Regions from separate parts of the Homo sapiens genome. Here all the other regions are linked to region 1. The links are contacts of gene promoters, found by promoter capture Hi-C in blood cells and fetal thymus (Javierre and others, 2016). All regions are on one chromosome and are shown on one strand. Each heading gives the region's core, a stretch centred on a gene start or on the middle of the fragment in contact. The rest is flanking DNA. Distances are from core to core; before and after follow the strand shown.

What was found. The method cuts DNA at HindIII sites, captures the fragments that hold promoters and counts their contacts. A CHiCAGO score of 5 or more calls a contact.
Region 2: a contact is called between a fragment that was not itself captured here and the fragment with the promoter of DRGX in region 1, in 1 of 17 cell types (M1 macrophages). The highest score is 5.3, in M1 macrophages.
Region 3: a fragment that was not itself captured here is called in contact with the fragment with the promoter of DRGX in region 1 in 1 of 17 cell types (M0 macrophages); the score reaches 5.0 in M0 macrophages.

The regions. Positions count from the first base shown.
Region 1 is chr10:49,393,914-49,398,383 of GRCh38, forward strand. It overlaps DRGX (dorsal root ganglia homeobox), which reads right to left and starts at 2,176. Exons shown (of 7, transcript NM_001276451.2): 1 at 2,022-2,176; 2 at 1,494-1,608. The coding sequence starts at 1,527. RefSeq lists a silencer at 4,191-4,350. The HindIII fragment of the contact is 25,200 bases long and covers 1-4,470 here.
Region 2 is chr10:49,133,136-49,137,212 of GRCh38, forward strand. It overlaps FAM170B (family with sequence similarity 170 member B), which reads right to left and starts at 886. Exons shown (of 2, transcript NM_001164484.2): 1 at 672-886. The coding sequence starts at 783. It overlaps FAM170B-AS1 (FAM170B antisense RNA 1), which reads left to right. Exons shown (of 6, transcript NR_038973.1): 2 at 2,521-2,946. The HindIII fragment of the contact is 994 bases long and covers 1,312-2,305 here.
Region 3 is chr10:49,079,271-49,083,427 of GRCh38, forward strand. The region is part of intron 3 of VSTM4 (V-set and transmembrane domain containing 4); the gene reads right to left. Among named protein-coding and RNA genes, the nearest start is that of VSTM4, 34 kb to the right of the region's middle. The HindIII fragment of the contact is 1,649 bases long and covers 470-2,118 here.

The DNA of each region.
Region 1 (4,470 bases), core at 926-3,425:
GCAGACAGACATTCATGACGTCCCCTACCTGCCAAATGCCCAAACTTCTGCCTTACCCACTTTGACCAGAAGGGTGGGACACTGGCTGGCAATTAGTCCAGACCCCTGGTTCAGATGCACAGAGAAGGCACCCTTAACATACAGAAAGTCTCCCTCATCCCCTAGGGTACACTGTCAGGGGATGCACGTCTCCCACCCTTCCATAAAACCCACCCTGCATGGGAACTTGGGGATAAAATGTGAAATGCAGGCAAATGTGTGGCCTTCCCTTCCTAGGAATGCTGACAGAGCTAGCAGGGCTTAAACACTGGTCCTCATTAGCCTCCTTTAGAAAATCCTATTGGACTCTTAAGAGCTTTTATGAGAAAAACAAAAACAAACTTTCTGAGGCTCAGCCACTGCTCAGGGCAGCCTGCAGCAAGACTGACAAGCATCACCTGAAGTCTCAGGTCTCCTAGCGCCTCACAACATATACCCTGCCCCTTGTCTCCCACAACTACTTGGCTTCCCAAATTCTCCCACCACAATAATAAATCAAACGAGTAGGTTGCCAAATGCCAGTCCGACGGTTACAAAAGTCCCAATACCCCAGTGCTGAGACTGCTGCTCTGCAGAAGGCCCCATTAAAGCCCACAGTGTGGCATTGGCTCACCTGATGGCTACTAATTGGCCCCCTGATGTGAAGACCCCATCCTTGGATCCCTCGGGTCCTGAGCAGGGGCATGCTGAGGTCCCAACTGTCCCCTTCTCACCAACCCACGCCCCCACTAACAACTGGGTGCAGAAGCCAGACTGGGGATCCTGAGGGGAAATTTCTTCTCAGGCCTGGAGACACTCAAAGATGGAAATTCTGGCCTGGGGAGTGGGGAGTGGTCGACATTTAGGGTTAGTGAGTCACAGAGAAGGAGCCATGCTAGGTCAGTCCGGGCAGGTGGTGGGCAGGGCCACCTGGTTCCAGGGACGGCCAGGAGGCCGGGAAGGGAATTGAGCTGCCCAGAATCCAGGGCGGAAGAGGCCCCTGCAGTGTTCTCGCCAGCGGCCCCAGTGAGAGCAGCCCAGCGACGGGCCCTTGTAGGCTCGTGCAGCTCGTGATCTGGGCCAGGACGCGGCGGGTCCACTCGCCTTTGCTTTCTGGGATGTTTGCAGAAGCACCGTGAAAGATTGATGCGGCCCCCTGGGTTGCGGAGCCCCAATTAGAGGCGTGACACCAGCATCTGTGCTGGGAGGATTCGGCCGGTCCCCGCGGCACGCCTAGCCCGGGGCGTCCTGGCCCAGGCGGGGAGGGAGCTGGGAGGCAGGTGGCGACGGGGCGGGGAGCTGGAGCGGGCCTGGAGTGGGGTGTAGGGAGGGGTCCAGGGAGGCCCCTACTCACCGGCAGGCGGCTGCGCCCCCCGCAGGGCGGGGACCCAGCCACCCACCAGCCCTGCTGCCGCTCCGGCCCTTTCTGGCCGGCTCTGGCTTCATGGAGACCCTGGGGCGCAGCGCTTACTTACCCTCTAGCTGTGGCGGGCAGTGGAAATAAAACATCGCCGGCTGTCAGATCGGCTGGACGGCCGAGACCTGGGAGGGTGGCAGCAGAACGGACCCGCGCGCGTTGCTCCTGCCTGGCTGCAAAGCAAACAGCGATAGAGCTTCAAGTCTCCCTCTGCCAGCGCTCCCGCCCAGCCCTAGGGCGCACCCGGCGCTCCCCTCCTGGAAAGTCCCTCCCAACGCCCTCATCTCACTGCGGGGGACAGGAGGGAAGGCGGCAGCCCCGTCGCAAGCAGCAACCCCACAGGGCAGTCCTTCGGGTGTGTCCACCTCCCGGACGGCCGTGCCCTCACCCTGGCCCCAGCACCAAACCCCGCAGCGTAGTTTCTGGCTCTCTGGGGTCCCAGCCAGAAGCCCTGCACCCGGGCCACCGCAGCCAGGTCCGGCTAGCGCGCAAGGCCATCTGCGAGCTGCAGCTCAGGCCAGGAAGGCAGCCGAGCCCCAAGGCCCGGCGCTCGGGGCCCGGCGAGTGGGTCAGGAGCCGAGCATACCTCGGCGGGCGGCGGTCGAGGAGGTCGGAGCGTGACCGCCTCCGATCCGCAAGCCCTGCTCGGCTGGCGGCGGGCGGGGCTCGGCGCGGCTGGCGCCCGCAGGACCAAAGAAGTGACTCGGGAAGTGGCCAGATGTCTTGCTGTCTGTCTGCAGCGCGCGCCGCCGCTCAGCACTCGCCTTTATAATCTCACGCATAATTGGCCTTAATCTGATTATTTCCAGCGCTGTCTACAGCGAGTAACTTGGATAGGTCTATTGGGCCTTACAAATGGCCCACGTGGTGTTAAAAAAAAAATCCGTCATTTCTCAGCAAACATCAGGAATGCTTTTTCCTCTTTTAAAAGAGAACGATACAACCACCACCACCATCACCCCCAAAAACATACATTTTCCGAAAACACACTAGGCCCCACCCCCCACCTCATGTCCCCTCAGAGGCAAACCTTTCTCCGAGAGAGCCTGGTTTGGGCTGCCCTTATCAAAGGCCTGGTGACTCCCGGGCTGCAAATTGGCAAAGCGCTGCTAATTGTCGCCGCCGGATGGGTTTTGGGGGGACTCTTTGCACACGGCTTCCCTTTCCAAACGATCGTACAAAAGGAAAGTTTGATTTTGTTCTCAGCAAGGGGTCCCTGAATTTATGTTCGCTTCTCGATGCAAATGATATGCGGTGGGACCCTTTGCAATTACTTTTAAAATGCATCCGAGGCAGACACTCAACGGAGAGAGACCGCCCTTCTCTCTGCCTGGGTGAAAATTAAACTCTAAAGTACCGGGCTGAAATTTTCAAGTCAGGGGCGCGGGATTGGATCAAATCACATAAACTGCAAAAAAAGCAAGTCTAATGGCGCATAATTGGTTCTGTAATAGCATTACACCAGGATAATAGCCCGTTACGGCCCCCTGCACTATTAAGTGCTTCCCTGGCGGAAAGCCTTTATGATATTAAAGGGGGAATATAATGATATTTTGGTTATTAAATGCGTGTAATTAATTTATGCACCACTGAAAATAAAGTTGGTATTATGACCCACTCAAGATGCATCAGAAGATGCAAGTCAGACAACTGTTGATAAGTTCTGGTGTCTGTGCTCCGTCTAGACTGCTGATTTTATTTTGGGACGATGGCTTCTTGGACAGACTACATAAATTGAATATTTTATAAACATTCTAATGCTGCGTTAGGGAGCCTTGGCGAGGTGGTGGGTCGGGTCCCTGCACGGCCCGGGATACAGCCTTGATCTTAAAGACGCAGCGCTTTGGAAACAAAAGGCCTGGCAGGCCCGCCGCTGGACACCAGCGCTGGGCAAGGAGCATCGAGCTGCAGGACAGAGCGCTGGGTCCCGGCCGCCGTTGACGCCCCTCCGAAAACAGCCGGGAGGAAGACCAGTCCCGCTCCGGTCGAGGCAAGTCAGGATCTATTCCAGTGAAGCGGCCCTTCCTGGGCTCAGTCGCTCCAGAGCAGAGTCTGCTCTGCCTCGGGGAAAGAATCACAGGAAACTTCCGCTCGTTTCAGAGCGGAGAGAGCTCGGGGCGCCATTTCCGCCAGGGCCACCGACTCCGAGAGTCCAGGCAGCCGGCCCGGGAGGAGCGGCTAGCAGGTCCCGAAGGCGGGTGAGGTGGCAGGCAGGGGCCGGCAGGGCAGCCGAGGGCCTTTCCTACGTCATGCCAAGAGGGCTGGGAGCCCCTAGAGCTGATCCTCCCTTAGCCCAGGTCAAGAGACTGGCTCGCGCGCGCTGTCTCTCTCCCTGTCTCCCTCAGAGGGCCCCTGCTCTCTGGAGCTCTTGACAAGAGCCCGAGGCTCCTCTTGCCGCCTAGGTCTGCCGAAAGTCCCCTCGGGTTCCCTCCTGCCCTAGGCAGCAGTTCCCTGCCTGTGCGCTTTGGGAACCCGGTGGCCGTGAAGTGAGGTGCGGACAGCTTCTGGGCCGCCTCGGCCAAGATGCTCAGGCGCACCTGGGGGTGTGTGCGGGAACCCTCAGCGGCAGCAGCCCAGCCCGGGGTGCAGTGTTGGCCCCAGAAACCAATGAGGTCCAAACGCCAGTCTCAGTTCCCCATCCCTGACATCGACCGAGGCAAGTTCCTATTAAGGCCCAGAGATGACCCCGGGACGAGACAGGCTCATCCGGCGCGGATGAGACAGGCTCAGACCTGCGCGGTCTGAGGACGGCGCGCTCGCCGAGCAACCCGGCAGGTCAGAACCCTGGACAGCGGCGCCGGTTTCCGCACCCCCACCCACCCCCGGCTGCTGCGGAGAAAGAAGCCGTACCGGGGGCCCAGCCGGGGCCCCTCGCTGCTCAGGGGTGGGATCCGCCCGGCCGGACCCCAGGCGTCCGGGGACCGACCCCAATCCTCTCCCAGTCCAAACCTGCGAAAGTTACTCCGGACATGCGCTCAGCGCTGGCAACAGAGACAAAACTCCCTTCTCCGCAGTACCACGCGCCGCTCCTACCC
Region 2 (4,077 bases), core at 559-3,058, 260 kb before region 1:
AAAAACAACACATGCAAAGTGCCTTGGCCAAGCCACCCAGACCCACCATCCTCTTCAACATTTGTGACCTGTCTTCACCTTCCCGAGGGGGCATCTCACTATCTCCTTCAACACTTACTGTGTCCCTCTTGCCATGGAAGTGCTTGCCAAGTTTAATATTCAAAACAACCCTAAGAAATTATATTGTTAGGATTCCCATTCAACAGAGTAGGAAAGAGAGGCATGGAGTTTGAATGAGTGGTGGAGCCATTGGGCCCCCAGAGCTGGTGTGACACTTAGGTGCTGCCCACAGACACGTCCCCGCGGTCTTCAAATTGATGTTCTAGATTAACTTTCATCATTTTGTTATAAAGGAATTTTTTATTTCACTGCTGAAATCACAGGATGGACGTGTTGTTTTCTCAAATACACATTAAAATAAATACATAATTATAAACATTTTACATTTTCATTCTCATATCCCCTGAAAACACCTTATATACTCATAACAGCCTCAGTCACACCAAGTGTCCCATAAATATCAATTTCCTTTCCCTCCACATCTATGTTTATGGTCAACACAACCATTTGGTAACAGTATCAGGAGGCAACCTGGCACTGTCCCTTCCCATCAGGGCTTCCTTCCCAGGGAGCACAGCTGGCTGACCTTCCAGGCCTTTCTTTTCACCTACCTGGCCAGAACACTTCCACACTCTCCTCAGTGGACTCAGGGCTGGTCAAGCTGAGGGTGGTCCCATCGGTGGGTGACTGTTCTCCCCTGTGATCTGTGAAGTAGCATTTCATGATTTGAAATGAGTGCCCAGGGTGTCGGTGCTCCAGCTGTTCAGTGAGAGTTGGCTGGGGCTGTACTGAAGGCCTCCAGCTGGCCCCAGCCAGAGTGGACACTGAGCTCCCCATGGTCGCTAAGATCCTAGCTCTACTGTGTGACCTCATCGATGGCACTGGTCTGTTCTGTGACCCATGGCGAGGGCAGAGGCTGAGGCTGGATACCAGGAGAGGCTTCCCAACATGTTCTCATTTCCCCATGGGAACTCCTTTTCTGTCTTGTGTATTATCATGGACACACAGAAACACAAAACACACATACTCTTAACTCCTTAGACACACATAAAAACACAAACACATAAACACAGAGACACTTGTATACACTTAAGCATGCATGGAACCGCTGTCTTAGTCCATCTGTGTGGCTTACAAAGGGATACCTGAGGTTGGGTAATTTATAAAAGAAAGAAGTGTATTGGGCTCATGTTTCTGCAGCCTGTACACAAAGCATAGTGCCAGCATCTGCTTCTGGTGAGGGCCTTAGGAAGCTTCCATTCTCAGCAAATGGGGAAGGGGAGCAGGTGTGTTTAGATCACATGGGTAAGAGAGGAAGGAAGAAAGAGTGGAGGAAGTGACAGGCTCTTTTCAACACTCAGTTCTCACAGAACTAAGAGTGAGAACTCTTTACCACGAGGGTGGCACTGAGCCCTTCATGAGGGATTTGTCCCCGTCACCCAAACACCTCCCTCTACGCCCACCTCTCACATTGGATATCAAATTTCAACATGAGATTTGAAGGGGACACATGTCCATACTATGTCACTCACACACAAAGAAACGCATACATGATCACTCAGACACACATATACGCTGGAACACATATGGCACACACAGTAACATAAACATATGTACGTGTGTTCACATAGACACATAACATGCTCACACATACAAATTCACACACATATTTACTTAACCACACACACATACATGCACACAAATTCATGCCAGATTAATTAACCATACATAGGCTCACATACATACAGTCAGCAGCCAACATAAAATGACCCTGCTTCCCAGTGTGGAAAATCTCTCCTTCTCTCCCCCATCTTACGTCCCCACGCTGACCCTGTTTAGCTCCTCAACCCTCCACAACCCCACCCCACCCCTCCCCTCCCCTCTCCTCTACTCACTCCCTTGCTCAGTTCCTGTGACTCCAGACACTTCACTGCTCCCGGACATGCCCGGCATCCTCCCCTCACGGGCTCTGGGCTCTCGCACTTGCTCTTCCTTGTGCCTGTTCCAGGCTTTCCCCTAGGTTCCTGTGTGGCTCTCTCTCCTTCCGGTCTCCTCTGAAACATCACCTGGTCAGAGGAGCCTGCCTGGCACCCCCAGGAAAAGAGCTTTCTTTGGCCCTACAACTCTCTGTCACCTTACCCTGCTTTATTTTTCCATGATAGCATTTACCACCCTAGGCTGTATATAATGTCTGTGTGTGTATCTCATGGGTTTACCTGTATCTGTCTTCTCCTCCTTAGATGTAAGCTTAGGCAGGTAGGGACTTCCTTCGTTCCATCCACCTCATTATATCTCTAGTGTCTAGATCAATGTTTTACATATTAACAAGCACTCAGGAAATAATGAGTAAATAGCTGATGAACACGTTGGGCTGAAAAAGGCGTTACTCCCTCTGGGAGCTGCCTCCTCTGTGCTCCCTGGATCTCTGCAGTTCCAGGGTGGTTGGTTCTCTCCCACTAGGACTCTGGGAGTTGCCTCTTCCTTCTCCATTTGCACAAACCACGCTTCAGCCTCAATCAGCCTGATAAAATGTTCACCTGCCATCTCTCTGCTCTGCAACACGCTGGCACTTCACTCATTTCCTCCAACAAGCTTCTTACCACTTCCCTCTGTGGCTAATCTCTTCCCACCCTTGGTCAGTCTCATCAACTCTATTCCTTTGAATCCCAAATACTAAACAGTTCAGATAGGTGATGGATTGAAAATAATCCCAATATTCCACAAGCAACATCAACATCCCCCACACACCCAGCACCGAGGAATACCCTCCTCTCTAGAATGTGAGGCCACTGTGTGGAGGAAGACACCACGGTGCTCTACTGAGCCATGAAAGTCACGCCTGACCTAAACAGAAGACTACGTCCCCTGGCTAAAAGAGGAAATAGTGTAAGTGCACCCTTTTTTAACAAATAAATACAAAGACTTGCCTTACAAAAACAAGAGGGGGCAGCCAGCACAGAAAATAAGTAGGTCATTGGGGGATGGAAGGCAGTTCAGAGAGAGATGACATCATGGAGAATTGTTAAGCGGCAAAGTAAACAGCAAGTCTGGGAGGAAAGGAGACTCAGCCAACAAATTATGCTGAAAAATTATATTCGCTATTTTTTTGAATCAACTTTGGTCTCACTTCATGTAAAACAATTAAGAATATTTTCATAATGGTTCAGAGCTTACGCTTTAATGAAAAATGTGTAGAAAGAAAATATGTTAACATTTGTAATTACAAGGTGCTTTTTCTCAACTTAAACAATATTAGTCTTCGCAAGCATTGAGAAACTTTGTCATCTTTTCTAATTTCACTGCTTTAAAAAACTCACTGTTTCAATTTGCATTCCTCTGCTTTTCAGTGGAACTGGAAAAAAAAGCAAATGAGCAAGCAGTTTCCAGGGGAAGAAATGCAGAGGGATGATAAATATATGAGAAGATGTTGAGTCCTACTGTAATAAGGGAGCTACAACTTAAAAATGTGTAGTATACAGTATAGCACTTTTCACCCATGAGATAGGTAAGAGTTAAAAAGATGGACAATACCCAGTGCTGGTGAGGACGTAAGGAAATGAACACTTTTATTCTCTGTTGGAACAGTGTACCTTAACTTTCTCAAAAAGTTTGGTGGTACCCATTAGAATTAAAAGTGGGCAGGCACTTCCTAAGCAGTTTACTATCATCTCTTTCCTAGGGAACAGCCACATTACATGATATGTGCATAAAATAGCACCTAGAGAAATATTTATTGCAGCATTGTGTATAATAGAAATAAAGACAGGAGACTTTCCTAAGATCCATCAAAATAAAGAAACTACAACATAATCAAACTGTGGAATACTACACCACGATAAAAAGAAAGAGATCTATACATACTGATAAGTGAATTCATGTTAAATGAAAACACAAGATACAAGGAATAGATAGATGACCCCACCTATGTAAAAATCAAACATACTCCCTCAAAAGCACTGACCAAATTCTATATTGTCTATGTATCAAAAGGCACAGAGGAGATCTGAAAATAATCAC
Region 3 (4,157 bases), core at 44-2,543, 320 kb before region 1:
ACAGCTCACTGCAGCCTTGAACTCCTGGGCTCAGGAGACCTTTCCGCCTCAGCCTCCTGAGTAGCTAAAATTACAGGCATGAGACTCAGTGCCCAGCTACATATACTTACATTTCTTAAACTCTAATAATCAACGTTATCATTAGTCTGATCAATACAATGCCAAGCTGCTCAGAAAGTGAAAAGGGAAGCCAAAAGCATTATTCTAACCATCTTTGAAGAAAAATGCCACAGGCATTTATTTGAACTTAGCAAAAATGTTTCTCTGTTGACTTAACTTTCTACAACCAACAGACATTTACTATCAGCCATGGTCAGTACTTTCCTGAGTCCAAGAAAGATAAAAATGCACACACAAAGGCTTTCTCTTCAAGAAATAGAGGACCACTTAGTAAGTGTAACAATAAGAACGTGTGTCCAATACCAGGAACACTCAGAGACACCCAGCCCAGCCTGGGGAGGCTGAGAGAAGCTTCCAAGAGGGCTAGAGTTCTGCACCGAGTTGTATTTAAAATAACAAAAAATACAAAAATGTATAGAAAAAAAAGCCATCGGCCATCCTGTCACCCTGAGATAACTACTATTAATAAATATTTGGTATACTTTATGATGAATATGCATATATTTTTAAATTGAGATCATATACTTTCACATCTTTTTTCAATTTCTCTCATTTTCTCAATAAATTCTTTTCAAAAATGATTCAGAATCATTTTGAAAAATATGATAAAAGTTTATCATATTAATATATCAGCAATGATTTAACAATCTCTTACTATTGGCTACTCAAAGTGTTTCTACCTGTTCCCCATCATAAATAATTCTGTGGTGAGCATTCATGAACTTAAACCTTAGTACAACTTTCACAATATGTTCTCAAGATTAAGTTCCTAGAAGTGGAATAGCTGAGTCAACAGGAAAAGAACATTTGTAAAGCCCTTGTGGCGTGGAGAAGCAGTTAGTTAAGTGCTTAAGCTGAAAAAGCAAGCCTACTGGGAGTAGCAGGTGGCTGGCTCCCAGGGAGAGCCTGGAGAAGCAGGTCAGGCTTATGGTTAATGAGAAGAAAGGGGGCATGAAATGGAATCAGACATTCAGGTTCCTTTTGACTCTCCCCTCCCTGGCCTAGGCCCCAGGGAAGCCCAGCAGAACCTCTGCCCCTGGAGTCTATGAGATCTTCCTGTGTTCTTAAGGCAGTCAGCATTTTTGCCTAAGCTAGTTTGAATAGATTTCTGCTCTTGGCAATTTAGATGTCTGGACTGAAAATAAAATAAGTAGAAAGTGCCTTAGGGCAAGGTAGCAGGTGAAGGGTGCATCTGCACTAACATTTAAGGAGAGAGGGGCAGGTGTGTGGAAGGGAGTCTCCTACAAAGGATCAGAGCTAGTCATGGATGCAGAGGAGGGCTGGGGCGAGAGTTCTGGAAGCCCAGAAGAAAGCACTGTAAGAAGGATGCCTTAATAGCATCAACTGCTGGAAAACATCCACTCTGTTTTGCTCCTAGGAAGCTACTGGGAAAGTCTTGGAGGAAAGCCCTGTCAGTAGGCTGGTGGGGGCAGAGTCAGGTTAGAGAGGTCCAGAAGCTGATGGAATGTGAGGAGCTTGAGAAAGTTCTCACATAGCTAAAAATCAAAACTGCCTTTCTAGTAAATGCCTGTGTCTCTGATGTGTGGGCTCTGTAGATTAACAGGGTGGAGAACTCTGTGAGGGGTCAGAATTAGGAGAGAGGCTGCAGCATCCATTTAAACAGTGTGAAACTCAGCAACAGGACTCTTGGATTCTGGACAAGACACTTCATGACGAACTCAGGGACAGAGCAAAGTTCACAGACCAGGATTTGTGGCAGGATCCCAGGGCACAGGATGGCCACAACCCAGCAAACCCACGGCCAGTCCTGCCTTTCCACATTGGTCAGCAAACTACTCCAGAACAGGATGGCAGAGCCCTTGCTGGCAGGAGAAGATGGTGAACAACACAGTCAGGCTGCCAGGCCGACAGAACCTCAGGCAGGTGAACACAGCACCTGCCTGGAAGGGACTATGCAAATGTGGTCCCCAGACCAAAAGGCAGAGAAACTTGCCTTTAGTCTTATTCATGGAGTGGAGAGAAAAATTGTCTTACAAAAGCTTCCATGCCCATGGAGCACAGCAGCTGATCCACAAGCTCACCTCTTCATCTGAGCTCTTTCCTTCGCTTCAGAACAGCAGGAACCCAGGAGGGACAAGGTTGCAGGTAAGAACCGCAGTAGGCATCTCTCCCCAAGTGTCCCTAGCAGCATGCTGCAGACATTTGGGGCACACTCTGCCCAGGCAGGAGGTCAGGGGCTTCAAAAGGCCCAAGCTACAGTTTCAGTTCACAGCTTCCTCAACATGGCTCAAAGGGGGCTCCCCACAGGCAGCCAGGGCTACAGAATCAGAAAACATCTGGCGACTCTGGAAGGCTCAGCTGGCCGCCAAACACACAGGCCTCCAGTTATGGACACCAGCCAGCGGGCACCTCCTGCCTGCGTGTGGCTCCCCACACACACAAGACCGGTCATGGCCACTCTCTGTTTTGTTCTTGAAGCTACAGATCTGTAAAAAGTGCTGCCTTGCAGGAGAAGAAAAGCTCAGAAAGACCACCTGAGTTCCCCTTGATTGAGCAGCAACCAGTATGCCTATGTTCCGAATTTTTTTCCCTTCTGTTACAAGCATTCCTTTTGTTGCATAAAGATAACCACCCTGCTGTGTCCACTCAAAACATGAAAACCCCCCTCCCTGGCTGTTCTCTGCAAACAACAGTTAAACTCTGAGCCATTGAAGCCAGGGTCACAAATTCCTACGACTGCAGAGTCACCTTCCTGTCATGTCAGCTAATGCAAAGCCCTGCCGCACTCAGTTCCAGGGCACTGCTCTCAGGCTGGAATGCCCGCCCAGTGGTGCCAGATCTTCCAATTCATCCTTTACCTTTTTATGTAAAAATCTCTCTATAAAATGTTGGCTCAAAAGTTTTAAAACTCAGACTAGGCCAAATAATGCTGGTTGAAAGGTTGAAGCCAGACCTTTCAACAAAGGCTTGAGTTTAACAAAATATCTGCAATTAATCAAATCTGGAGTTCACTTTTAAAATACCACATATGGTCAGGCATGGTGGCTCATGCCTGTAATCCTAACACTGTGGGAGGCCGAGGCAGACCAATCACCTGAGGTCGGGAGTTCGAAACCAGCCTTGTCAACATGGTGAAACAAATTAGTACAAATTTTTGTACTAAAAATACAAAAATTAGCCAGGTGTGGTGGCACATGCCTGTAATCCCAGCTACTTGGGAGGCTGAGGCAGGAGAACTGCTTGAACCCAGGAGGCGGAGGTTGCAATGAGCCAAAATCATGCCATTGCACTCCATCCTGGACAACAAGAGCAAAACTCCATCAAAAACAAAAGGAAAAGAAAAAAAAACACATATAGCTGCACACCCACAATAATTCTAAAAATCATGTTACATTCCCTTTCTCTTAAATCATTTACAGTTTTGTCTTTTGCCATTGAACTTCCAAAGGCATCACTGCCATTTTTAGACTCAACTGCAAGCTGCCATGTAGAAAATGCCCAGGCCTCCCTGAAGCAGATGGCAGGGCTGGCAGGCTGGAGCAGCTGCCCATGCAGAGACAGGCCAAGACTGGGGTGCATAATGTCAGCATGCCAGCTCCCGCCCTCCCAAACAGCCCCACCAAGCCAGGGCCAGGCAGATGGCACCTGTTGCCCAGCAACCCTGATCCCAGCAGGGGTATATTCAGTGCTCCTTTGAAAAAGAGTGACCCCAGTGCCCCTCAGCAGAGTCCAGGAACCCCGCTCTCCCCTGCTTTCTGAATCAAGAAAGTAAGCTTCAGTCTTGTACATTTCCAGGGCAAATGGAAAAGTCAGGAGATAGCAGTTTGAGACATAAGGCTGTGTATTTCTATTTTTTAATCCAGCCTGTAATACCATCTTGCTCAGGGTGAAATACCTGAGTGATAGCCCCAAAGGATTTTAACTCACTCCAGCATCTCACAAAGAGGCCTGACAATCAATGCCTCTTTTGTGCAGTGGGCTCACAGCCAGGATGAACTAAGCCCCAGGAGGATGGATATCCATCCACAACCCCTACTGTAGCTCTCTCGTCCAGGAACAAAAGGGCAAAAGGCCTG